Regions from separate parts of the Homo sapiens genome. Here regions 1, 2 and 3 are each linked to region 4. Evidence: promoter capture Hi-C in human tissues and cell types (Jung and others, 2019). All regions are on one chromosome and are shown on one strand. The core of a region is centred on a gene start or on the middle of the fragment in contact, and the rest is flanking DNA. Distances in the headings are between cores, read along the strand shown.

The links. The method cuts DNA at HindIII sites, captures the fragments that hold promoters and counts their contacts. A contact is called where the count stands out against the background at its distance.
Region 1: a contact is called between the fragment with the promoter of POLRMT here and the fragment with the promoter of WDR18 in region 4, in 1 of the 25 tissues and cell types used here (dorsolateral prefrontal cortex).
Region 2: the fragment with the promoter of CDC34 here is called in contact with the fragment with the promoter of WDR18 in region 4 in 1 of the 25 tissues and cell types used here (spleen).
Region 3: a contact is called between the fragment with the promoter of PRSS57 here and the fragment with the promoter of WDR18 in region 4, in 1 of the 25 tissues and cell types used here (lymphoblastoid cells).

Annotation. Positions count from the first base shown.
Region 1 is chr19:631,669-635,277 of GRCh38, forward strand. POLRMT (RNA polymerase mitochondrial) reads right to left here and starts at 1,869. Exons shown (of 21, transcript NM_005035.4): 1 at 1,757-1,869; 2 at 1,166-1,270. The coding sequence starts at 1,844. It overlaps LOC105372234 (a long non-coding RNA gene), which reads left to right and starts at 1,796. Exons shown (of 2, transcript XR_936226.2): 1 at 1,796-2,227; 2 at 2,316-3,609. RefSeq lists silencers at 1,653-1,812, 1,823-2,082. The HindIII fragment of the contact is 7,301 bases long and covers 1-1,941 here.
Region 2 is chr19:530,508-534,288 of GRCh38, forward strand. CDC34 (cell division cycle 34, ubiquitin conjugating enzyme) reads left to right here and starts at 1,253. Exons shown (of 5, transcript NM_004359.2): 1 at 1,253-1,601. The coding sequence starts at 1,425. RefSeq lists silencers at 758-1,497, 1,918-2,087 and enhancers at 1,294-1,950, 2,348-2,397, 2,468-2,627, 3,610-3,781. The HindIII fragment of the contact is 13,520 bases long and covers 1-3,781 here.
Region 3 is chr19:694,070-697,397 of GRCh38, forward strand. It overlaps PRSS57 (serine protease 57), which reads right to left and starts at 1,383. Exons shown (of 5, transcript NM_001308209.2): 1 at 1,283-1,383; 2 at 745-898. The coding sequence starts at 1,361. The HindIII fragment of the contact is 19,970 bases long and covers 1-3,328 here.
Region 4 is chr19:982,723-986,097 of GRCh38, forward strand. WDR18 (WD repeat domain 18) reads left to right here and starts at 1,623. Exons shown (of 10, transcript NM_024100.4): 1 at 1,623-1,841; 2 at 3,143-3,253. The coding sequence starts at 1,632. RefSeq lists silencers at 1-278, 1,443-1,532 and enhancers at 1,217-2,158, 1,583-1,732, 1,763-1,942. The HindIII fragment of the contact is 34,067 bases long and covers 1-3,375 here.

The sequences.
Region 1 (3,609 bases), core at 619-3,118, 350 kb before region 4:
AAGCGTGATGTCCGCCTTCAGAGTGCTCCAAAACTCAGGAGATACTTTTAGGATTAACAGTTGAGAGCTTTGTTTTGTTTTGTTTTGTTTTTGAGATGGAATTTCCCTCGTTGCCCAGGCTAGAGTGCAATGGCATGATCTCGGCTCACCGCAACCTCCACCTTCCGGGTTCAAGCGATTCTCCTGTCTCAGTCTCCCCGGGTTCAAGCGATTTTCCTGCCTCAGCCTCCTGAGTAGCTGGCACTGCAGGCGTTCACCACCATGCCCAGCTAATTTTTGTATTTTTAGTAGAGACAGTGTTTCACCATGTTGGCCAGGCTGGTCTTGAACTCATGACCTCTTGATCCGCCCGCCTCGGCCTCCCAAAGTGCTGGGATTACAGGCGTGAGCCACCGCACCAGGCCTCGGACCCTTGACCTCTTGATCCGCCCACCTTGGCCACCCAAAAGTGCTGGGAGTACAGGCGTGAGCCACCGCACCAGGCCTCGAACCCCCGACCTCTTGATCCGCCCACCTCGGCCACCCAAAAGTGCTGGGATTACAGGCGTGAGCCACCGCACCTGGCCAGGTTTTTTCCCTTTATAAAGGTTCTCCCGCCTCTCCCTTCCCGGCTGCCTAATGGACGCAGACAGGATGTGGGACAGAAGCACCGGCGGGAAGCAAGCACAGGGAAGCTCCCACCTCCCTCCCACACCACCAGCCAGGCCAGGACGAGGGCCTGCCACCGCTGGAGCCTGGGCTGTCCCTCCCAAGTTTCGCAGTCATCCAGTCTCCATTAGGCGCCTACCCCCCAGAGCCAAGCCAGGACAGCTGAGTCAGTTCAGGGTTCACATCCTGGCTCTGCACATGTGGCCTTGGCGGCGGGGCCGGGGGGGGGGTCTCTCCAGACATAATCTTGGGCCTCACCTATGTCCCTGGAAAGTGGGAGCACCTGGTGGGGTTCTGGGGAGGGGGAATTACGAGAGCTCCAGGAAGGAGCCTGCTCAGCAAGGACAGGGCCCATGAGCGGTGCAAGAGATGTTTCAGCAACGCCGTCTGGGCGTGTCCTGGGACCCGAGAGGTGGAGACCGCCCTCAGCCTGTCTCAGAATCTGAGCCTTTGCCTTTTCTCCCGGCAGCAGGGAGCGGACTCTCCTCTCCCGGGCCGCCGTGGGGGTCGCGCTCACCCTCCAGCAGCTCCACGTGGCCCCAGTCCTTCCTGCGGTCTTGGTCTTGCTCCTGGGGGCTGGCGGACGAGCTCCTCCTGGGGCCGCAGACGCCACCGGCGGTCCCTGCGGGAAAGACGAGAGCGGCTGAGCGGGGCCGGGCGTGTGGGCGGGGGCCTCCATAAAGGCAGAAGCCGAAGGGTCGAAGGGCAAAGGAGCCCTAAACGCAGCGGAAACTCTCGGAGCACGGGCTTAAGTTGGAAAGAAACTAAGACAGCGAAGGTGGAAGGGCCCCGCCGCGGCGAACACGGGCGCGGAACCGCCGAGAGAGGGTTCCTCGCACTCGAGGTGCAGCAGGTCAAAGGTTAAGAGCCCTAAACACCACACCTGGGGTCAGGAGGCTGCATAAGAAACCACGAGTCAAAGGTCAGACTGCACGGAGGAGCCTCAGTCGAAAAGCGGGCAAGGGCGAGTGGAAAGCGGGGCCGGGTCGGTGGGCTGCGCACGCCCAGGTGCAAAGAGGCAAAGGTCAAAGCGCCAAAGGCCCCGGCCGCGCGGGGAGGAGCCCACGCCGTGGCCCCCGGGCTGCCTGGCCGTCTCCCTTTGTGTTACCTTCTTTGCCGGGGAGTCCCGGGCGGCCGCAAGGCCGTAGGGCTCGTTTGAGCCCCGCCGCTCCGCGGCCCCAGCAAAGTGCCGACATTACGCACGCCGCTCCAGGCCACCCCACCGGCCCGCGCCTGCGCATGCGCCCGCGCCGCCTGCCGGGAGTTGTGGTTTCATGGTCGACGGAGGCTGCGAAGGGAAACCCCAGCCGGAAGTAGACTCCCAGGATGCAGCGGAGGCGCGAAGGCATGCGCCGGTGGACGCTCTGATTGGTTCCTCCTGCTGTTTTTAAAGGGAGGGGGCGGGACAGAGCTGTTGCCGTGGCAACTGGGAGGCACTCTCAGGCTGTTTTCCCGAGGACCTCAAATCCGGACTTTTTTTCTGTTTTTCTTTCTTTTTTGGTTTTGTTTTGGACGCGTTGTGGCCCAGGCTGGAGTGCAGTGGCGTGATCATAGCTCAGTGCAGCTTCGAACTGCTGGGGTAAAGAGATCCTCGCCCCTCGGCTTCCCAAAGCGCTGGGATTGCAGACGCCGCCACCGTGCCCGGCTTTTTTTTTTTTTTTTTCAAGGCATACTCATCTAATAACGAGGACAGCATCTGCAATTTAGAGATTCCTGTCCGCAACCTTCATTGCTCCAACGACAACTTTTGGGTAAGAGTCATTAGGATGCCGTCTATCATGGAGGAAGCTGAGGCTCAGAGAGGGCCACCAAGTTGCTGGAAGACACAGCACGTGCGACCTCAGGGAGGCTGCAAGGAGAGAAAGCCCCAGTCCGCGAGACTCCCAGCCTCCAGCTTCAGTTTACCCTCCAATCCCCAAGCCCTCAGGGGCAGGAGCCGAATGGAGCGGCAGGCTTGGATTCACCTGCTAAGTGGGGTGAGGTCAAGGGAATGAAATAAACCTCGGAGCCTAGAGCCTGCCCTGGTCTCCGCGTGATCCTGCCTAGGAGGAGCAGGGCGGGAGCTTTAGAATGGAACCTGGAAGGTGTGCCCACCTGTGTCGTTCAGCCGGGGCAGCAGGCCAGAGGCGGGAGCGCCTGCTGTGGGGCAGTAGGCTTGGGAAGGGTGAGAATAGGAATATCTGGGGGTAACTGTGTTCCAGGCTAATATCCCAGTTGCAAAGGGGAGCTGGTTTGGTGGCTCAGGCCTGTCATCCCAGCACTTTGGGAGGCTGAGGCGGGCGGATCACCTAAGGTCAGAGTTCGAGACCAGCTTGGCAAATACGCAAGCATGCCTGGCAACATGGCAAAACCCCGTCTCTAGTAAAAATACAAAAATTATCCGGGGGTGGTGGCGGGCACCTGTAATCCCAGCTACTCGGGAGGCTGAGGCAGGAGAATCGCTTGAACCCGGGAGGCGGAGGTTGCAGTGAGCCAAGATCTCGCCACTGCACTCCAGCCTGGGTGACAGAGCGAGAACCTGTCTCAAAAAAAAAAAAGTGCAAAGGGAGGTCAGTTCAGTGCCTCAGGCCTGTAATCCCAGCACTTTGGGAGGCTGCGGCGGGAGGATCGCTTGAGCCCAGGAGTTCCAGACAAGCCTTGGGCAACCGAGATACTGAGACCCAGTCTCCACCAAAGGAAAAAAAGAAATTAGCCAGGCATGGTGGTGCACACCTGTGGTCCCAGATACTCGGGAGGCTGAGGCAGGAGGACTGCTTGAGCCCAGGAGGTTTAGACTGCAGTGAGCTGAGATGGCGCCACTGTACTCCAGCCTGGGTTGACAGAACAGGACCCTGTCTCAAAACAAAACAAGTGCAAAGGCCCTGAGGCAGGAACAAGCGTGGACAGAGGAGCAATTTGAGCAGAGTGGGGCTGGGGAGAGGGAGCAAAGATGTAGCTGGGGCTCAGTTAGGGGGCCTGACC
Region 2 (3,781 bases), core at 3-2,502, 450 kb before region 4:
GGCTCATGCCTATAATCCCAGCATTTGGGAGGCCGACGCAGACGGATCCCTTTATTAGTCCAAACTGCATCCTCCCCTTCCTTTCAAAACCTAACAACACACTTGAGGTCAGGGGTTCGAGACCAGCCTGGCCAACATGGTGAAACCCCATCTCTACTTAAAATACAAAATTAGCCGGACGTGGTGGCGGGCACCTGTAATCTCAGCTACTCGGGAGGCTGAGGCGGACACTAGCTTGAACCCGGGAGGCGGAGGTTGCAGTGAGATTGTGCCACTGCACTCCAGCCTGGGCCACAGAACGAGACTCTGTCTCATTTAAAAAAAAAAAAAAAAAAAAGACTCGGGTAGGACAAAGGTCAGGCTGGGAGGAGGGCACAGCCAGGCTCGGGCTCAGCTTGGGGTGGGGGCTCCGTGGGGCTGGCGCCTCTCCCGGGTCAGGTGCTGAGCCGATGCTGGCCGGCGTAGGCCTCTTTCCCAGTTTCTCTGGGGGGCAGGAGCACCTTGCCAACCTCTGATGGCTCCAGCGCCTGCACTCGCCTCACACCACATGGTGACTTCAACGGGGACCAGGGAAGCCCTCGCCCCTCCCACCCCTCAGAGCCCTCCCCGACCTCGCCCACTTCTCAGAGCTCCCGCTGTCGGGGGAACCGAGGCAGCGCCGCGCCTGGAAGCCAGGTCTGCGGATCCCGCCTCGCTCCCGCCCCTTCCTCCCTTCCGCGTGGCCAGCGCGACCCTAGGACAGACTTCGCGCCCGTCCCCTGCACAGACGGGGAAACGGAGACGGGGACGCGGGGTCGCGCCGGATGGACCGGCCCTGCCCCTCCGGTCCCGGTCAGGACCCCGCGCCGCGCCCCGTTCACCGCCCGCGGCCCCGCCCCGCGCCGGCACGTCACAAAACAACCCCAAAGCCGGGGGACCGGGCCGGTGACGGCGCAGAGCAGCCCTGCCCGCCTCCTTGCGCACAGCGTCCGCGGTGCTGGTCGAGCAGGGGGCGACGGCGGCGGCCTCGGGGATCGGAAGAGCCCGGGGCTGCGCGCTCGAACCCTCCCTCCCGGCGGAGGCGCTCGGCGCCGTAGGCGGGACCGGGGCCGGGACTCCACCTCCCGGCGTCCCCTGCGGCCGGGCGCGCAGGCGCAAGTCGGACCTGGCCGCGGAGCGCAGGCGCAGTCGGGGCCAGGCGGTGCGCGCAGGCGCAGCGGGGGGCGGGGCGCGCGGGCCCGGCCAAGGCAAGCGCCGGTGGGGCGGCGGCGCCAGAGCTGCTGGAGCGCTCGGGGTCCCCGGGCGGCGGCGGCGGCGCAGAGGAGGAGGCAGGCGGCGGCCCCGGTGGCTCCCCCCCGGACGGTGCGCGGCCCGGCCCGTCTCGCGAACTCGCGGTGGTCGCGCGGCCCCGCGCTGCTCCGACCCCGGGCCCCTCCGCCGCCGCCATGGCTCGGCCGCTAGTGCCCAGCTCGCAGAAGGCGCTGCTGCTGGAGCTCAAGGGGCTGCAGGAAGAGCCGGTCGAGGGATTCCGCGTGACACTGGTGGACGAGGGCGATCTATACAACTGGGAGGTGGCCATCTTCGGGCCCCCCAACACCTACTACGAGGGCGGCTACTTCAAGGTGAGCGCGGCGACCCCCGCCCGGGTCCCGGAGCCCACGAGCGACCTCGGGCGCCGGGAACCAGCTCCCTGCCCCGCGGTCCTAGCGCTGTTGCTGGGCGGGCCCCGAAGCCTCCTGGCTTGGGCTCGTTTCCCTTCTATGGCCACGTTCCCCCACCCAGCTCTGCCCGGCCCCCTCCTCGGACCGTCTCGGGGACCTTCAGCCTCTGCTGCAGTCCTCGAAAATCCCCAGTTCCCTTCAAGGCATCGTCCGGTCCCCTGTTAGGCTCTTGGCCCCCGGAGGGGTGGCCGGGGGCCCTCCCTGTAGCATCTGGGCGTGGGGCTCTTGCCCACCTCCTCCTTGGCGGGGGCTGGACCCCGGCTGCCTCCCCCTCCGCCCCTGCGAGAAAGAGGGAGCGGAGCCCAGGCCGCGCCGGCCTTTCAGCTGCCCTCCCCGCCCTCCCCGGAGGAGACAAAGAGGCCCCCCCAGACCCCGTAGCTGCTATTGTTGGGGAGCTGGGCCCGTGAGCGGGGGAGCGAGGCCAGCCTGGGGGTGGCTGGCGCGGCCACTCGCTCAGTCTCCAACAAAGGCCCGGATGAGCCTTGGCAGCCAGGACCCGCCTGGAAAGCGGCCACCCTTGCCAGTAGCAGCCGGCCAGGCGCCCTGGGCTCCATCCCCTGCTTTATGTAACCTGCGCCCTCGGGAAGGCCGAAGTAGGGGCGTGCCTCCCACCTGCTCCCTGCAGCTCTCTCCAGGCCTCCCGGCTCGGGCCCGCGTCCCGGACCCCGACCTCAGAAGCTCCGGGCTCGCTCATCCCAGCTGGTCTTGGCCTTTCTCAGAGTCCACTGAACAGGTGGCTTCTTGGGACCCAAACCCCGAGTTCTGGGCCGTTTCTTCTGCCCTCTGGCGGTTTAATTCCAAGCAGTTTCTGGATGTTTTTGTTGTTGTTGGGAGCGGGGAGGCTGTTTCTGTCTCATGTGAAAAGGACTCAGGCCAAAACCAGGGCAGTTTTCTTGATCTCACGATCCAGACGTGACCTTTGACTTCTTTTAGCGTTCAGGGACCTCGTTCTTGGGGCCAGAGGGACAAAGCGAGGGGCCCTGTGTGAGCGGTGGGGAACGAGCACCCTGTCCAGGAATCTCCCCCTCCCACCGTCACTTCCTGCCAAGAGCCTGGACACGACACGACACTGCAGGGCCCGGCCCGCTCTGCCCCGGCCAGCTGCGGGCGTGGGGCCGAGGGACCGATGCCTCCCGCACGATATGTGTCTGCTCTCCGAGCTAATTAGTGTCTGAACCGCACCCGCTCAGCGGCTGTGAGGGCAGCAGCCTGGTCTGCTGGGGGCGATTCCTGAGCAGAGAGTGGGACGCCCGTGGGTTCTGCATCTGGAATCCTGCGTCCCCACACAGGGAACAGAGTTTGGGTCTCGAGGTTGCCAAATGGTTTTAGCAGCTCCTCCGCCAGCCCCTTCTGTCTGCTTGGGGGAGCAGCTGGCTGAGGAGCCGCAGCCCCACCTCGAAGCCAGGCCTGTGAGGCGGCTGCTGTTCTGGAAGGAGGGGATGGGGGTTTCTGGCTGCTGTGCCCACCAGACCGGTTGCCAGGGATTGTGGGCAGAGCTTCCTGGGCCAGCATTAGGGGATAATCCGGTTTTCCGGATTTCCCAGGGAGGGGGCCTCTAGACATCTGCCACAGGGTCAGTCCTCAGAAGCCAGTGTTGAGACGGGGGTGCTGCCACCCACGAGGACTCTCCCTTCCCGCTGTGCCTGGGAGGGAGTTGGGGGAGCGTGGAAATACAGAACCTGCTGAGTGCCCAGGGCCGCTGCTGCCCAGCCACTGCCTGCAGCTGCTGTTCCTTCAGGAGCCAAAGTGAGCCCTGGGGCAGGGGCCGCCAGAGAGAGCCCTCCACAGCCGACTTGCTGTCTGCCCTTGGCAGGGCGCTTTCCTTTTCTGAGCCTGGGTTTGCTCCGGGGAAAAGACATTCTTAGAGGTGCCCAAAATAAGAGGCTCATTGGGACTTGGTGGGGTTTGGTACAGATGAGGCCTTGGCTGTTGTCAAGGATTGCCGCCTGAAACCCAGCACCAGGCTTGGGGGGCCTGAAGTCTTGGGGAACCGCAGGACAGTTCTGAGACTGAAGTTCCAGCCTTGCTCTGTGGCCGCGGCCAAGTCACTTGCCTTACGGGGCACCAGTGAGTTCCCTGTC
Region 3 (3,328 bases), core at 133-2,632, 290 kb before region 4:
TTCACCATGTTGGCCAGGCTGGTCTCATACTCCTGACCTCAAACAATCCACCGTGTCCCAACGTGAGGGGGACTGCAGGCTGGCGGGGGAGCTGGGGACACTGCAGCCCAGGACCAACCTATCCCGTGCCTGGTGGGGGCTCCTGCAGGAGGGGACCCACCCACCCTGGCCCCAATATACATTTTAATAGTTATTATAACAATATGTTTAAAACGAGGCAGGGCATGGCGGCTCACACCTGCAATCCCAGCACTTTGGGAGGCAGAGGCGGGTGGATCATTTGAAGTCAGGAGTTCGAGACCAGCCTGGCCAACATGGTGAAATCCAGTCTCTACTAAAAATGCAAAAATTAGCCAGGTGTGGTGGTGGGCGCCTGTGATCCCAGCTACTCGGGAAGCTGAGGCAGGAGAATCGCTTGAGCCCGGGAGGTGGAGGTTGCAGTGAGCCGAGATTGCACCGTTGCACTCCAGCCTGGGGAACCGAGACTGCCTCAAAAAAAAAAAAGAACATAGTGACAGTTACAGTAACAGAATATGTACTTGTTGCGCCTGTTGCTTCTTCTGTGCTTCTTTTGCCTCCCTGCCTTATCCTCCTGTTTTCCCTTTGTTGCCCTTTAAATCCAGCCCCTGCTGAGACTCCCCCTCCTGCAGGAGCCACGGCGCCCCCAGCTCCCCCACCAGCCTGGAGTCCCCCTCATGTCGGGATACGGTGTCCAGAAAGAAGGGGCCCGACAGGTGAGCTCACCTGTGGCTGAAGCAGTGGGCGGCCGAGACCACCCAGCGGGCTCGCAGCAGGAAGCCTCCGCAGTGATGTTGGCCCCCGAAGCGCACGGATGCCATGTAGGGCCTGGAGTGGGGGGTCACCTCGTGGCCCCCGATGATCTGGGCCCCCCAGGAGCCTGCTGGAGGGACGGCCTGAGTCAGGGACGAGGCGGGAGGAACGGATGACGGGGCTGGGGTCAGGGCAGGGGGAGAAGTAGCGGCCAAGACAGAGACAGGGGGTGAGATTAGAGACGGAGAGACCCAGAGAGCTGGAGACAGAGCCCAGACAAGCCCCCCAGATGCGCTGGGAGGGGCTCCCGAGCCCGGGAGATCCAGGGCTGGGCTGGGCAGAGACCCCGGCCGGATTTCCATCCATTTCCAGCAGAGGCAGCCACGGGGGCTCGGCAGATGGAGCAGGTGGAGCTCTCCCCAGGGTTCTCCCGGGACTGGGGGTTCCCGGGTGTGGCCCCCGTACGGGGACTTGGCGGGGGCCTGGGTGGGGATCCCGGGGGGCTCCTCACCGGGGGGCTTCACGGGCAGCATCAGGGCGGTGGCCACAGTCAGCAGAGGACGTCCCCAGCCCCTCAACCCGAGCCCCATGGCAGACGCAGGCTGGCGTCTCCCCGCAGAGGTCTTCGGGCCGTGGCTCCCACCCTCAGCCAACGGCCGGAAAGGGGGAGCCTGGCTGTGGCCTGTGGTCGGGAGGCCCCACCAGCAACGCCTGGAGCCCAGGCGGGCGTTTCTGAGAAATCGATGGTCTCAGGTGGTGGCTGGTAATAATCATGTTGATAATAATCATTGTCCCCTAGTCCGGAAACAGGGAGAGGAGGAGACAGCTCTGGGGCTGCAAGTGACCTCGGGAAGGCAATTGACCCTTCTGTGCCTCAGTTTACCCAGCCTCCACGTGGCCCAGCATGTGTGGGGAGCTTTCCGAGGAACCGAGGTCACAGCGGCACTCGAGACCCGCAGCTCGCCTCCGGCCCCCACCCCGCAAACCCCAGTCTTCCCATCTCCAAACCCAGGGCCGACCTCAGGGCTGTGGGGACAGCGAGGAAGGCCGGTCTCCTGGGAAGCTCTGATGATTTCTGCCTTTATTTTATTTTATTTTTATAGGTGGGGTTTTGCTATGTTGCCCAGGCTGGTCTCGAACTCCTGGGCTCCAGCGATCCTCCCTCCTCGGCCTTCCAAAGTGCTGAGATCACAGAAGACAGCCACTGCACCTGGCAGATTTCTGCCTTTATTCAGCAGTTATTGAGTGCCTAGTGTATACCAGACCTCATGCTAGGAGGTGAGGATGAGGCAGTGACCGCACCCCAGCCTGTAGCACTGACGTTCTGTGGGATCCGGAGTCCAGTGGGACATGGCTGTACATGGGGGTCTTCACCTTTTTTTTCTTTTCTTTTTTTTTTTGAGATGGAGTCTTGCTCTTGTTGCCCAGGCTAGAGTGGAATGGCACCATCTCGGCTCACCGCAACCTCTACCTCCCGGGTTCGAGTGATTCTCGTTCCTCAGCCTCCCGAGTAACTGGAACTACAGGCGCCCGCCACCACAGCCGGCTAATTTTGTTTCTGTATTTTTAGTAGAGACGGGGTTTCACCATATTAGCCAGGATGGTCTCGATCTCCTGACCTCATGATCCGCCCGCCTCGGCCTCCCAAAGTGCTGGGATTACAGGCATGAGCCACGGTGCCCGGCCTTTTTTTTTTTTTTTTTTTTTTTGAGAAGGAATCTTGCTCTTGTTGCCCAGGCTAGAGTGCAGTGGCGCGATCTTGGCTCACCGCAACCTCTGTCTCCTGAGTTCAAGGGATTCTCCTTCCTCAGCCTCCTGAGTAACTGGGATTACAGGTGCCCACCACCACGCCCCGCTAAATTTGTGTGTTTAGTAGAGACGGAGTTTCTCCATGTTGGTCAGGCTGGTCTCGAACTCCCGACCTCAGGTGATCCACCTGCCTCAGCCTCCCAAAGTGCTGGGATGACAGGCCTGAGCCACCGCGCCCAGCCCGGCAGGTCTTCACCTTTCAGTGGGAGCGTTCTTAGTGGCAAAGTTCAGGTCGTAAATTGCAGCTCACACAGCCGGGTGATGGCGTTCACGGCAGTGGCTAGCAGTGGGGTGCTCGTCAGCGCTTAATAATGAACAGGCTGGGGCCGGGTGCAGTGGCTCACGCCTATAATCCTAGCACTTTGGGAGGCCGAGGCAGGTGGATCACCTGAGGTCAGGAGTTCAAGACCAGCCTGGCCAACATAGTGAAACCCCGTCTCTACTTAAAGTACCAAAATTAGTCAGGCGTGGTGGCAGGTGCCTGTAATCCCAGCTACTTGGGAGGCTGAGGCAGGAGAATCGCTTGAACCGGGAGGTGGAGGTGGCAGTGAGCCAAGATTGCACCATTGCACTCCAGCCTGGGTGACAGAGCGAGACACCATCTCAAAAAAAAAAAAAAAAAAAAAGTCATCATTGAACGCTCCAGACCTGTGTTTTACCAAATGTAAAGTGTTCTCAATAAAGAATGAAGTGAAATGAAGCAACAGGAAATGCGTGGAAAGGAAGGTATGAAAAGGCCCCACAACGA
Region 4 (3,375 bases), core at 373-2,872:
CCGTGGTCCTGCCCCAGGGCCTTCGCACGGGCCTGCCCCGCACACGGTTCTCTGGGGGTCGCTGGCTCCCCGCTCAAACGGCCCCTCCTGCCGACCAGGCGGGTCCCCGGGGCCGCCCTCCCTCTGGCCTGGGCTCGGGGTCGGTGGCTCGCGCCTGCCACCTGGCGGCCAGCGGGGCTGCGGCGCCGCACGCTCTGGCACCAGCCTCCTGCCCCGGCCGTGCCCTCCGCCGGGAGCCGCGGACCAGGAGTCGCACCGCCTCCGGGGACCGCACCCCGCATGCAGCCTCCAGCCCCTGCCTCTTGCTGCTCGAGGGCACACGACCCAGGTCAGCTGCAACCCCCGGGCGGAAATCCCGACTTTTAAATGAATGCTCCCTTTTTATCCCTTTTTAAGGGGTTGGCAACTAATTGCACATTTTAAATCATACTGTTTTTAGGCCGGACGTTGTGGCTGAAGCCTGTAATCCCAGCGGTTTAAGAGGCCAAGGCCTAAGCCCAGGTGTTGGAGACCAGCCTGAGCAACACAGTGAGACCCCCCATCTCTACTAGATATATATTTAGTATAAATAAATAATAGATATATGTTTTTCTTTGAGACAGAGTCTCATTCGCCCAGGCTGGAGTGCCTGGGATCTCGGCTCACTGAGACCTCCGCCTCCCGGGTTCAAGCGATTCTCCTGCCTCAGCCTCCCACCACGCCCGGCTTTTTGTACTTTTTGTAAAGACGGGGTTTCGCCATGTTGGCCAGGGTAGTCTCGAACTCCTGATCTCAGGTAATCCACCCACCTCGGCCTCCCAAAGTGCTGGGATTACAGGCCTGAGCCAAAGCGCCCGGCCTTTTTTTTTTTTTGAATGCCGTTTTCAGACATGGTCCGTGACGGGCAGCCGTGACATGAAGTTAGACCCTGCTTGGCTCGGACAGAACTGGCGACTTGTTTGACCTACACCAAGCTATCCGACTAATAATTTAGATGTTGAGGCCCCTAAAGAGGGGTCAAGGGGGAGGCAGATGTCGACCAATAAGGAAACACTGGGCCGGGCGCGGTGGCTCACGCCTGTAATCCCAGCACTTTGGCAGGCCGAGCTGGGAGGATCACTTGAGCTCAGGAGTTCGAGGCCAGCCTGGGCAGGACAGTGAGACCCTGGCTCTACAAAACTAAATAAATAAGGAAGCAGTGAATTCCAATGTATTCATCGCCAACTAGCCATGTTGCTGGGTGTGCGCTCTCTCTTTTAGGCGCAATGTGTCATTTAGGCCTGTGACGTCGGAACTTTATTATTTGAACATTTAAAAATAAATGAATCCAAGAGCTTGAGTCACTTGGCCAAAAATGCCCAGGAGGAAAAGGCCAAGTCAGGTACCCCGGCTCTAGAGCTACTAACTGATCGCCGGAGACCCTGGGCCTTGGAAGAAGTCGCCTCCCCAGATCTCTAAGCAGGCCGCGCGACCCTCGAGTCTCAGGTAAGCGGGAAATCCCACTTCACAAGAAAGCCCCTCTCTCCGAGGCACGGGCGCATGCGCGGGTCGGCCACCCGCTGGGGCCGCGGGGCCGCCGCTCTGGCCCGCGTGGGGCAGTCGTCCGCGTCTCGCTCATGATGACGCACGTCCGGGGCGGTGGGGAAGGCAAGATGGCGGCGCCCATGGAGGTGGCCGTGTGTACGGACTCGGCGGCCCCGATGTGGAGCTGCATCGTGTGGGAACTTCACTCGGGCGCCAACCTGCTCACCTACCGCGGCGGCCAGGCGGGACCCCGCGGCCTGGCGCTGCTCAATGGCGAGTATCTGCTGGCGGCGCAGCTGGGCAAGAATTACATCAGCGCCTGGGAGCTCCAGCGGAAGGTGCGGCGGTGCGGTCTCGCTGCTGGGGTCATGGGGCGCCCGAGGCTGAAGTCGGGGGATGGGTTGGTGGGGGCCGCGTGCACCCTTAGTCGGAATTGGCGTGGGGAGGGGAGGTGGTCTCCGTTCGGGCGCTCTGCGCATGCGCGGGTCTGGGGGCTTTGGGGAGATACGTGCGACCTGTTAGGCCGCTCTGCGCACGCGCGGGGCTCAGGCCTGAGCTGCTATGGGGGCAGTGGGGGAAAATGGGAGACGCTCCGGGGGGTCCCTTGGGGCAATTGCGCATGCACGAGTTCTTGGAGCGCGAAATTTGATTAAAAGGGGCCTATGAGCTCTGTGGATGTTGTGGTTCTGGAGGAAAAGGGAGAAGGACCAAGGTCTGGGGGAGTCTCCCATGAAGGGGTGGCGCAGGAAACTCATGTTTATTCCTCCAATAAAGCAACAGATACTCACCGTCGCCCACAGTTTCCCCTCTACTCCCAAGCCCAAATGCAGCCAGTCCCTGAAGCTACTCGCTTCCCCCGTGTGCCCGCTGAGATCTCTTGGGACTGGCTCTGTGCTCCAGCATTGCCTGATGGAGTCTACACACAACTCATAAATTTCTCCCATTTTATTTTAGTTTTGAGACAGGGTCTCACTCTGTCGCTGAGGCTGGAGTGCAGTGGTGCGATCTCGGCTCACTGCAGCCTCTGCCTCTAGGGTTCAAGCGATTCTCGGGCCTCAGCCTCCTGAGTAGCTGCAACTACAGGCCCGCACCAACCACCACACCCGGCCCACATTTGTATTTTTTGTAGAGGCAGGGTTTCACCATGTTGGCCAGGCTGGTCTCGAACTCCTGACCTCAAGTGATCTGCCCACCTCAGCCTCCCAAAGTGCTGGGATTACAGCCGTGAGCCACCACGCCCGGCTGAGTTTTCCCATTTTAGAGAGGAGGAAGCTGAGGCTTGGGGTCTTAGGTTGGACATTATGGATAGAAGGATTGGGGCACAAGCCTACTGGGCTCTTGGGCCCCAGTGTCCTTCTGGATCCTCTTTGTTCTGTTCCTGTACTCCTCCCACCCAGGGCCCCTCTGACCCTCAGAGGAAGCACCAACCTCACATCTACCACCTCCAGCCTCGAAGCCTCTTGCAGGGGCGAACACTTCCTTGCTGGACCATGCATTTGCTCAAACCACCCTGCTCCCGACTCCTCTTCCTGGTTCTCTGACTTAGCCATTGCCCAGGCGTCCCCTCCCCTCGCCCTCCACTGCTGTAGTAGCTCCCGTGTCCTGCATGGGGCTCACGAGGCTGACTGTGCATCCTTAGGACCAGCTCCAGCAGAAGATCATGTGCCCCGGGCCTGTCACCTGTCTGACTGCATCACCCAATGGTCTCTACGTCCTGGCAGGAGTTGCAGAAAGCATCCACCTGTGGGAGGTAAGAGGAGCAAAGCGTGAGCGTTTCCCACAGGACATCTCAGCCCATCTGAGCTTTGCCTGCAGGGCACCAGGGAACAACCATGCGGCCTGGGGCCCTGGGATGGGTGACTGCTCAGGGGT